2 separate regions of the Homo sapiens genome follow, and region 1 is linked to region 2. Evidence: promoter capture Hi-C in human tissues and cell types (Jung and others, 2019). All regions are on one chromosome and are shown on one strand. The core of a region is centred on a gene start or on the middle of the fragment in contact, and the rest is flanking DNA. Distances in the headings are between cores, read along the strand shown.

Evidence for each region. Contacts are between HindIII fragments. The study calls those that stand out against the background at their distance.
Region 1: a fragment that was not itself captured here is called in contact with the fragment with the promoter of ZNF717 in region 2 in 2 of the 25 tissues and cell types used here (H1 embryonic stem cells and spleen).

What each region holds. Positions count from the first base shown.
Region 1 is chr3:76,008,633-76,014,633 of GRCh38, forward strand. It overlaps a transcript of ROBO2 not described here. Among named protein-coding and RNA genes, the nearest start is that of ZNF717, 230 kb to the left of the region's middle. The HindIII fragment of the contact is 3,919 bases long and covers 1,701-5,619 here.
Region 2 is chr3:75,782,432-75,788,201 of GRCh38, forward strand. ZNF717 (zinc finger protein 717) reads right to left here and starts at 3,118. Exons shown (of 5, transcript NM_001290208.3): 1 at 2,953-3,118; 2 at 875-933. The coding sequence starts at 931. RefSeq lists an enhancer at 3,231-3,380. The HindIII fragment of the contact is 7,615 bases long and covers 1-4,776 here.

The DNA of each region.
Region 1 (6,001 bases), core at 2,410-4,909, 230 kb after region 2:
AATTTTATACATCAAATGACCACCCTCTCATCACATTGAATACCTATTGTAAGAAGTTAGAATCCTCTATCTTGTCCTTCCTTGTTAGTTTAGGGTAGAAGGGATTTTTTTTTTTCTCATCCATCACTAGGTTCATGGCTGAAGCACCTATGACAAAAGACAGTTTAACAAGAGAAAAGCATACGTATTTGTTTAATGTAAATTTTACATGACATGTGGACCTTCAGAAATGAAGACCCAAAGAAACGGGGAAATCTATGTATATTTATGCTTAGGTTGGATGGGGAGTAGACAGTCATGAGGAAGTATGATTGAACAGAGGGAGTATGATCTAATGGTAATACGCTGGGGGAACTTAGCAAGGCCTGTTTGTTCATATTACTTTCTGCATCCCAGTGTGACATTCCTTCTCTCCAGATATGAGGCACATGAGGCTCTTATAACATACTTCACAGGAAGATCAGATTCTTTTCTCTTTTTTTGTTTTTGAGACTGAGTCTTGCTCTGTCGCCCAGGCTGGAGTGCAGGGGCGCGATCTCGGCTCACTGCAAGCTCCGCCTCCCGGGTTCCCGCCATTCTCCTGCCTCAGCCACCCGAGTAGCTGAGACTACAGGCGCCCGCTACCACGCCCGGATAATTTTTTCGTATTTTTAGTAGAGACGGGGTTTCACCGTGTCAGCCAGGATGGTCTCGATCTCCTGACCTCGTGATCCTCGCACCTCCGCCTCCCAAAGTGCTGGGATTACAGGCGTAAGCCACCGCGCCTGGCTGAAGATCCGATTCTCTTACAGCTTGCTTCAGAGAAGAAGGATTGGAGAAAATCAGAGCCCTTCGTTCTCTGTGATTTTCTCAAATGCCAAGGTGCCATATTCTGGGGTAGCATGTTCTGAACCCAATGCTCTGGGGTAGCATGTTTTTATTTGTAGAATATCAAGAGAATAGTGTTGCGTCTTTCAGAAAACTCAGTCTAGAAAATCTTAGGAATGAAATATACAACCTAATTTTATACATTTTTCTAATTCCTATTTATGGTTAATATTTGAAGAAACATTCCCTCATGCATATATAGTTTTAGTTTAATGTAAGTGAATAAGATACATAATAATGCTGGTTGCAAAGATTTTGTGTTCCAGAAAAGTTCAATAATATTTTCCTTAAAGGTTGGCATGTAAGAAGAAAATTTATTTCCAACATTTTAATCTTTGACTCTGCATTAGCCATTTTCAATTAGATAAATTATTTTTTTCACTTGAGTTATTTGTTGAAAATTGGTAAACTTAATTGATGAAAAGCTTTAGCTTTTGCTATTTTTTTTTCTAATCAGTGATTCAGTGATTACTATTTCTTTTCTATTTTCTTTATATGTATTGTAATTTCTCAATGGCATTCAAGAAACCCTGGAAAGCACATTGAAAGTGGAATTATTTAAGTTGGACATCTGTAGATACTTGTGCATTAAAAAATTCTCCAAGTATGTCTTTAAAACTTAATAAAAATGTCAACTTCGAAACTTAATGTGCCTGGGGCTTAGTCCAGAGGACAGTGGTATCAGGTAAGCTCAAACAGGAAGATAATGGAAGGGGATTTGAACTTTATAATTATGATAAGGACTCCTGGCTAGTTTAAGAAAGACAATGACGGGACCAGAATATACGTTACTGCCTGCTGTGTATATGCAGCAATAGTGGTTATACCTGGTTCTTTGTCTGCAAATCAGAGCACAGGCTCAACATGAACAATCCTCGGTCCACTTATGAAGGAGGCTTATCCACTCAGCTGGAGGTATGATTTCCCTGCATATTGCTGCCAACTTCCTGTCACTGTCCCAGAGGTTTAGAGTTAGCATTCATGACCTTCAAACAGCCTAATTTCCCCAGAGTCATTGAACACAGCTAGTTGGCCCTACTAGGCTGAAAGCCATATGGCATCAATTGTAAATGTTTTGCTACTATTTCTAAATATAACCACCTGCCTGATTTACTGTTTGCTGGATGCTCACCTTGAATGTGAATATGTCCACATAATTTTTTTCTTTAAATTAAGAAATGTAGTTTAAAATTATGATTAATTTTATCCTATTAAGATGTTGAAGGGGGACGCTGAAGAAGCTTCACATTGTCAGTTTTGTATAAATCCACTTGTTGGAGAAAAGTGTTGAAATGAAATTAACAAAACCATCACATAAATATAAACGTGTAGATTGTTAAAATTACAGTTTTAGGAAATTTGCAACATAAAGTACAAGGTAAATAAATATCTCATTTAGAACTCACATATTTAGTACAAAATATTGCCCAAAATACATCCTAGGGCTTGGGGATATTTAGAAAAGAGAAGACCCCCAGAGCTATAATCCTCATTAAGTAACCAGATAGCTTAACTTCAAAATGCATTTTATTGTTTTTTAACCTTGGGTTTCAAGATATAACCTTGAAGAAAACTGCGGAAGCCTTTTCTGTTAGCTATAAAATAGACTCCATATCCCTCCCTTTCCTACCATGTATACTCCCTTCACATTTATCTAATTGTATGCTATCATCTGTGTGCCTTCTTAGAAGTTGCAGGGGCTAATCTTGAGTCTGACAAAGGAAGCTTGGAGACTCAGCTGCAAAATTCCCGCGATCACTTCAAGGTGGCTGGCTAGTTAACAACCCCGCCATTGTTGAGATGCTGCCAGCCCGTGATTCAGGTGGACTGAGACCCAAAATAGCCACCAGAGCAAGACACACAGACATTGTACTCAGCACAATTCTTGCATGCCTTCCTTATCAATGTTTCCACTTTTAAACCCCTGCCCTCACCCCCAAAATTGAAGTGGTTGGTTTAGATGGGAATCCGGCCACATCCCCTTTACTAGTTTTGGTTAGTAAAATCACTTTCTTTATACGAGACCTCGCTCTTGTGAATTGGACTCTGCAAGTGGTAAGCATTCAGATCTGTATTCAGTTACAAGGAAGTGATCTCTCTGCAATGGACACAGAAAAGATAAAAGGTTCAAGGGGAAATATAGGGGAAGAGGGAGGGGGAACTTAAATATTGGGGATAAATGAATTTGGGATAATTAAAACCAAATATAGAGAAAATTCTGAAGGGAAACTGATAATAGTGTATATGTAGACATTATGCTCCTCAATGGAAATTTTAAGGATACAATATTGTTTCCAGTCATCTGTCTTTCAGCAATATCACCCAGTGACTCGATGCAATCAAATGTGTATATGTAGACATTGTGCTCCTCAATGGAAATTTTAAGGATACAATATTGTTTCCAGTCATCCCCCTTTCAGCAGTATAGCCCAGTGACTCGATGCAATCACCTCACCAGTTCTCTTCTGAGGAAACAGTTTTAGACAGATTCAAAGCCCAGTTCAATGTAGCCAAGATTCTTTAATTTCTAATTTAGCTAATTAGTAGCAATACAAACTCTTGCCAAACAAGAAATGTGAATTCTTAAAGATTAAATTTTATTTTATCTCTATGTAGAGGTAGGAAACCAATCTTTTGGGAGGCACAAATTAGGATGACAGCCAACATTCATATATTCATTCTAAAATAAAGCCTTTATATGTAATGAATTATTTGTCATAATTCTAGAAAGTGGCATGTTCCAGCAATTATAATTATAAAGTATACTATTTTTGGAGAGTAAAATAGTAAGCCATATCATTAAGATCAAAATGATATTTAAAGGAAAACTGTAACTATGCCTTTAGTATATTAAAATTTGGTATTTTATACATCTGTCCCTACAAAATAAAACACTTTTTATATGTTTTCTTTGGCTCACGCACAACTAAATTTGATGAGATAAAATATACAAATATTTGACAGGTTCAATTTCCTTTTCAAGTTGGATTTTAATTAATTCAATAAGCATGTATTGATGACCTACTGTATGCAATATATTTGGCTAATTTTTAGCATATTTGATTTTGCTCTATCATCATGGATCGTGATGTTTGTGACTGGGGATATTTGTGACTGGAAGCTTTTTTTTTTCCCGTTAGCCAAATAAATAAGTAGGTAAATAAATGCTTAAAGACTTTTTTAAAAATCCGTGTGGTGTTATTTTTAGAGGTATATAATTTATCTAAGCTCCAGTTCCTTCCATTGGAAAAATGCATATTTAAATGAGGTAATATGTATAAAGGCAATTGGTGACTGGGCACGGTGGTGTATGCATGTAATCCCAGAAGTAATATGTATAAAGGCAATTGGCGACTGGGCACGGTGGCTTATGCATGTAATCCCAGAAGTAATATGTATAAAGGCAATTGGTGACTGGCACGGTGGCTTACGCGTGTAATCCCAGAAGTAATATGTATAAAGGCAATTGGCAACTGGGCACGGTGGCTTATGCATGTAATCCCAGAAGTAAAATATGCATAAAGGCAATTGGAGGCTGGGCACGGTGGCTTATGCGTGTAATCCCAGAAGCAATATGCATAAAGGCAATTGGAGGCTGGGCACGGTGGCTTATGCGTGTAATCCCAGAAGCAATATGTATAAAGGCAATTGGAGGCTGGGCACGGTGGCTTATGCGTGTAATCCCAGAAGTAATATGTATAAAGGCAATTGGTGACTGGTACGGTGGCTTATGTGTGTAATCCCAGAAGTAGTATGTATAAAGGCAATTGGAGGCTGGGCACGGTGGCTTATGCGTGTAATCCCAGAGGTAATATGTATAAAGGCAATTGGCGGCTGGCACGGTGGTGTATGCGTGTAATCCCAGAAGTGGTATATATAAAGGCAATTGACGACTGGGCACGGTGGCTTATGTGTGTAATCCCAGAAGTAATATGTATAAAGGCATTTGGAGGCTGGGCACTGTGGCTTATGCATGTAATCCCAGAAGTAATATGCATAAAGGCAGTTGGAGGCTGGGCACTGTGGTTTATGCGTGTAATCCCAGAAGTAATATGTATAAAGGCAATTGGCGACTGGGCACGGTGGTTTGTGCGTGTAATCCCAGAAGTAATATGTATAAAGGCATTTGGAGGCTGGGCACGGCGCCTGATGTGTATAATCCCAGAAGTAATATGTATAAAGGCAATTGGCGGCTGGGTACAGTGGCTTATGCATGTAATCCCAGAAGTAATATGTATAAAGGCAATTGGCAACTGGGCACGGTGGTCTATGCGTGTAATCCCAGAAGTAATATGTATAAAGGCATTTGGAGGCTGGGCACAGTGGCTTATGCGTGTAATCCCAGAAGTGATATGTATAAAGGCAATTGGCGGCTGGGTACAGTAGTTTATGCGTGTAATCCCAGAAGTAATATGTATAAAGGCAGTTGGTGACTGGGCACGGGGGTGTATGCGTGTAATCCCAGAAGTAATATGTATAAAGGCATTTGGAGGCTGGGCATGGTGGTTTATGCGTGTAATCCCAGAAGTAATATGTATAAAGGCAATTGGTGGCTGGGTACAGTGGCTTATGCGTGTAATCCCAGAAGTAATATGTATAAAGGCAATTGGCAGCTGGGTACAGTGGCTTATGCGTGTAATCCCAGAAGTAATATGTATAAAGGCAATTGGCGACTGGGCACGGTGGTCTATGCGTGTAATCCCAGAAGTAATATGTATAAAGGCATTTGACGGCTGGCACGGTGGCTTATGCGTGTAATCCCAGAAGTAATATGCATAAAGGCAATTGGGGGCTGGGCACGGTGGCTTATGCGTGTAATCCCAGAAGTAATATGTATAAAGGCAATTGGCGGCTGGCACGGTGGTTTATGCGTGTAATCCCAGAAGTAATCTGTATAAAGGCAATTGGCGGCTGGCCTGGTGGTTTATGCATGTAATCCCAGAAGTAATATGTATAAAGGCAATTGGCAGCTGGCCTGGTGGCTTATGCGTGTAATCCCAGAAGTAATATGTATAAAAGCAATTGGTGACTGGGCACGATGGCTTGTGCGTGTAATCCCAGAAGTAATATGTATAAAGGCAATTGGCGGCTGGCATGATAGCTTATGCATGTAATCCCAGAAGTAATATGTATA
Region 2 (5,770 bases), core at 1,868-4,367:
CTCTTTGAGCAAGGAGCATACCTTACAATGGAAGCTGTGCTTTGGCAGCAGATGCCCATTTCCACTGCACAACAGGCCGTGCTTTAGTGGAAGATGACTGTTTCCACTGCACAACACTACAAGTGTTTACTGCCAGGCTGGTGTGAAATATGTTCCACCACAGCAAGGAGCATACCTTATGATGGAAGCTGTGCTTTAGCGGCAGATGACCATTTCCACTGCACAACACACTGTGCTTTAGCGGCAGATGACCATTTCCACTACACAACACACTATGCTTTAGCAGCAGATGACCATTTCCACTGCACAACATGCCGTGCTTTAGCGGACGATGACCGTTTCCACTGCACAACACACCGTGCTTTAGCGGCAGATGACCATTTCCACTGCACAACACGCCGTGCTTTAGCGGATGACGACCGTTTCCACTGCACAACATGCCGTGCTTTAGCAGAAGATGACCGTTTCCACTGCACAACACTACAAGTATTTACTGCCAGGCTGGTGTGAAATATGTTCCAGCACATAACCTATGTCACCACCGAAGGTGGTGGTTCAGACTTGGTGCACACAAGCTTTCCTGTCCCACAAGAACACAGCATGCTCTCTTCGCGGGTTCCATTCCAATCACGTAACAACCATGACTGACTTTTTTGTCACTGCATCAGAAAGATCAGAGGAAAATTTGCACTCAACTTAGACAACTCTAAGCTCTTACAACCTGTCTATATCTACAGGTCAGCTTTATCTTATTTATGTATATTTCCTTCAACCTGAGTTTTACTTATTTCCACTTTTCTTTTTTAATTCACAGACACCCATAAACTCAGAAAATACAGTGTAAAACAAAGTGAAGAACAAATAAACAACTCACCAGAGATTTATTCTTTTCTTGTAGCTCTTGGAAACAGCCAGAGAACACTGGAAACATAGCTGAGAGAGAAGGCAAATGACGTGAATTAAGGAGAGAACTGGTGTGGTGTGGTCCCAGATTCTTCTGCCCAACACTCTAGACACATTACCTGGAAAAGCCCTCCTCCCTCCTGAAAAAGAAAAACTTCCCCATGGGAGAAGAGTCCTTCAAGCCTCATTAGGGGCAGCAAAGACTCAAGATAAGATACATCTACAAGTACATTAATTGGTAGACATTAGATGCACAATTTATTTTGAATAAAAATATGTATTACCTACTAATTTAGCAACAATATTACCTAAAGATACAATCTAATAATTTAATACAAAGAAACATTATAAGTTCACTAAAATAAATGTTATAGAAATATACTGGGCTGTATTAACTATTTTCCTATTAATATGTGGATTCCACAAATAACTTCATATGAGTGTTCCCATGACAGTACATCTTGCTTTTCTATACCTGAACATCATGGAAAGTGCATCTTGCAACCCAGCAATTTTGGCCTACAATTACTTTTTTTTAAATGTACATAATATGTATTTCCTGCAGTACACCATTCTACTCATGTTTCCCAATAACACCTTTCCCTGTATCCAAGCCCTCATATTATGCTCTGACAATAAATTGGGCTTTTCCATCTGACTTGTCCAGTGAATGGACAATGGAAAATGTGATGCAAATATCCATTGGTTCTTGCCTTTTTGGACACAGTCATATTGTGAGGAGGTCTGGAGCTACCCTGGTGGAGACACAGGGCCTAGCCAAGAGTCACCACAAACCGCCAGATTGTGAAGGAAACTATCTTAAACCAACCAGGCTCAGTCAACCCACCATGTGACCAAGGCCTCTTTTGTGATCCAGGCAACATAAATATATCAACTACCCAGCTGAACCCACCACACCAAAATGCAGATCCACAGAACTTCAAACAAATAAAATGGTGGTTGTTTTTTATAAGCCAGTAAGGTTTAATTAGTTCCTTAAACAGCAAGTATTAACTGTTACACCTAAGTGAACAGAATTCAATATGTTTTTAACAAAATTACGTAGGGGGAGAAAGTCTTAAATTACAAATCAAATACAATCGATAGAACTTCACAATCTAATGCTAAAGCTAAATTTGGTGATGGACTAGGTTTAATATATCTCAAACGCTGGAAACAACGAGGAAAGGTTGAAGGAATGGGACTGTGTTTGGAGAGTATTTTAATCTTCTCAGGTATGACAGGTCACTCCTGTACCCCAGACCACACTTTCAGGCCCCTTCAAATAAGGAATATTTCCTAGGTCCTTGCCTGTTCTTCTCAGCCGAATTCACCTCAACCTTCTGAAAGTTCGTCCAAACCTACCACTGTCACCTAGTCTTTGCAAATCTTGTGCATTCTAGGGAGTAGAATTAATATTTCCCGAGCGAGGAAAACTGGGATCTTCACCTGTGACCTTTTATCCTCCTCTGAAGCACCAGTGGGAGGTTAGACCAGAGGGCTGTTCTTTCAAGTGCGCTTCTTATTCATAGGGAACCCTCCCTTTCAAACCTTATAACACACGGTTAAGACTGAAGTACCCTTAAGGCTGAAGACCATCATCCAGTACCCCATCTCCCTCGCGGCATCAGTGAGTTCTTCCCTGGAAACTAGGTCTCGTATAAACTTCTGTAAACGCAACCCAGGAGGACTAGGCAGGTCACACAGTGAAGGAGGGAACCAGAAACTTCACTTGCTAAAGAGACACCGGGAAACCCAACTAATACAAACGCCCAGTTTAAGACTCGAGGCGCACGCGTTTCGCACTACTCCTCTGGGAATGGGGAACGTCTCCCGAGAACTGTGTGTTCGCACTGGGACAGATGGGCAAACTGAGCGTCATGCGGGTTGGTAACCGGCTCCCTCAGCGGCAGGACAGGAGCGCGGCCTGCAGACTCCGGGCCCAGGGCCACCGGCCTCGCCTACCCGCTCCTGCGCCTCTAGAACCCGCTTCACTGCCGGGACCCCACGCCTGTCCTCCCAGCCCCCGCCAGGGTCCGCGGCCTGCACCTGCACTTCAGGCCCTGCCCGCCCGCGATGCGCCCACGCGTCTGCTCCCACAACTGGGGAACACTGGTCCGGCCCCCCGGGATCCCCCGGGCCCACGGGTTCCTCTTCGCCCTCGCACCGACCCGCAGGGACATAGAACCAAGCCCCAGGCTGGCCCAGCTACAAGACCGCCTCTGGGTGCCGCACTTCCGGAGGAAAATGGCGGAGTGGGCGGGGCGGCGCATGCGCAGAGAGAAAAGCTGGTTCCCAAGGTCCTTGATGGTAACATCATTGGAAGGTGACACTACATTTCCCATGAGGCTCTGCGGTCCCCGGTTAGGAACCCAAGCCGGACATTCTGTTTTGCCCAGCAGTGAGTCCAGTTACCCAGAGACCCGGACTTAATGGATCAGGACTGGTCCCTACCCAGGTGACACAGATGTGGCATTCTGGTTCTTTATTAAATCCTGGTTTCACAGCCTGGCACATTGTGAAAATAATGGAGAAATTTCAATAGAGGCCAATTGGTCTATGCTATTAATGAGTAACTTTTTTTTTTTTTTTTTTTTTGAGACGGAGTCTCACTCTGTCACCCAGGCTGGAGAGCAATGGTGCGATCTCGGCTCACTGCAACCTCCGCTTCCCGGGTTCAAGCGATTCTCCTGCCTCAGCCTCCTGAGTAGCTGGGATTACAGGTGCGCGCCACCACACTCACCTAATTTTTGTATTTTTAGTAGAGACGGGGTTTCACCATGTTGGTCAGGCTGGTCTCGAACTCTTGACCTCGTGATCCGCCCTCCTCGGCCTCCCAAAGTGCTGGGATTACAGGCGTGAGCCACTGCGCCCAGCCCTCAAGTCTATTTTTTATAAATGCATTCGAAAGCATGAAAAAAATCATGTCTCTATTTTACTTTAAAATTTTAAAAACACAACTAATGAATATGGTAATTCTCTTCCAATCCGTTATCTTTTCTCTCACTAAACTAATTTATAAGCCTTCAATTTACACAGTTACAAAAAATGCTCTAGTGCATATACTGGGATAAAATAACAGGGTCATAAGACAGGTGCACTCCATAATCTTTGTGACAACTTACACTTCCAGTGTCTGATAAATATTTGCCCATAAACTCCCACGTTTCATCCATCCACCAATCAATCAAATCTAGCTATCTTTATTTATTTATTGTGAGAAAGACCTGAACTTTGCCTTTCCTTCCCTGATTTCTGCCACAAACTAGGCAAGGATTTCTGCCTAGGGGTTTCTCAGAGCTCCGGCCACCACCGAGGTTCCTAACAGGGAAACGCAAGCTTGAATGCTCAGGGTTGATGTGGGAGTGCGTGTGAAACGGGGTTGGGGTGAAAGGGCAGTGAAGTTTGTAGGTGGGCAGATGAGGGTGTGAAGGGCTTTCAGGTAAGAGGCACGCAGGAGACTGGGAGAGGCAGCGAAAGCACCTCACGCCTCAGATCACCAGAAGACGCTTCCACCAGTGCCGTGACAGTTTGCCAATGCCACGGCAGCACGGGAAGTCCCCACCCCTTGCCATGGAAACAGCTGGAAGTTACTGCCCATTTCTAGCTATTTCTGAATAACCCGCCCCTTAATTAGCATGCCATTAAAAGTGAATTATAAAAATGACTGCAAGCCACCCCCAGGCTGCTACTCTGGGAGCACAACCCACGGAGGGCTCCCTGCCCTGCAGGAGTGGACGCAGGGCTGTAACACCGCCAGTGCCTCCGTAGAGCTGCTTTCTTCCACCACAGGCTTGCTTTTGGATTCCTTCCTGAGCGACGCCAAGAACCTGCCCTTCCTCAGTGTGACTCTTGCCTAAAACCTATCCCTGGTTTTCTCTTTTCCTAAGCATGCCCTGACTTGTTCTTTCATCTCCTCGGATCTTGCAATTGCTCCTCAGTGACTCTATTCTGCAGATCCAGAAAACTCAACCTTAATCTTCCCAGAGCCCTGTTGTCTCCAATATCGGAATCTCTAGCCTTGCTTTCTCAGACGCCTAGATTACAGGCCTCTCTCTTGAACACCTATTGGTATGGTATCTGGGGATCCTTTAAATACACGATGATTGGCAGGGGTTACATAGCGGAAATCAGTGCCTGACAATTTGCCTTCCAGGATATGGACTGTCATTCCCTCTCTTGGTGGGCCTCAGTCTCTTATCCATAAAAGTAGAGATTGTAATACTCATTTGAATTGCAGATACCTCAACCTGAACCCACCTAATATAACGTAAAAGCCAAGACTGCAACCCCTTTCCTCACCACGTGAAGGTGAAGTCCTCAGAGCCAAGGAGAGAAGGCTCAGGGATGATACCTGGGTGTCTCCGACGCTAACCATGTATTGCAGTTTTTAGTGTTCAAGTTTAAGCTTCCCCAGCTTTAATTCTATTGTAACAAGATTTATTTTTGTAATTCCATTTTTGGATTCTTGATTTCTTGGTAAAGAAATACAGTTATTTTTGTATATCAATCTTATATAGTGTTACATTCTTAAATTTGTTCATGAGTCCTAATACTTTTTAGTAAATTTCTTACGATTTTCTAAATGCAAGATCATGTCATCTGTACATAAAGATAACTGTACTTCTTCCTTTCCAATCTAGATGCCGTTTATTTATTTACGTTGCCAAGTTGTCCCAGCTACCACTGTTATCAAGTAAAAGGGTCTCACTGCCCAAAGCACTAGAAGCCGGTACCACGACACTGAGTTTTCGAGAAAAGAAAAAGTTTAAAGTCAAACCAAAACCTATGGGGTACAGGCCGGGCGCAGTGGCTCATGCCTGTAATCCCAGCACTTTGGGAGGCTGAGGCGGGCGGATCGCGAGGT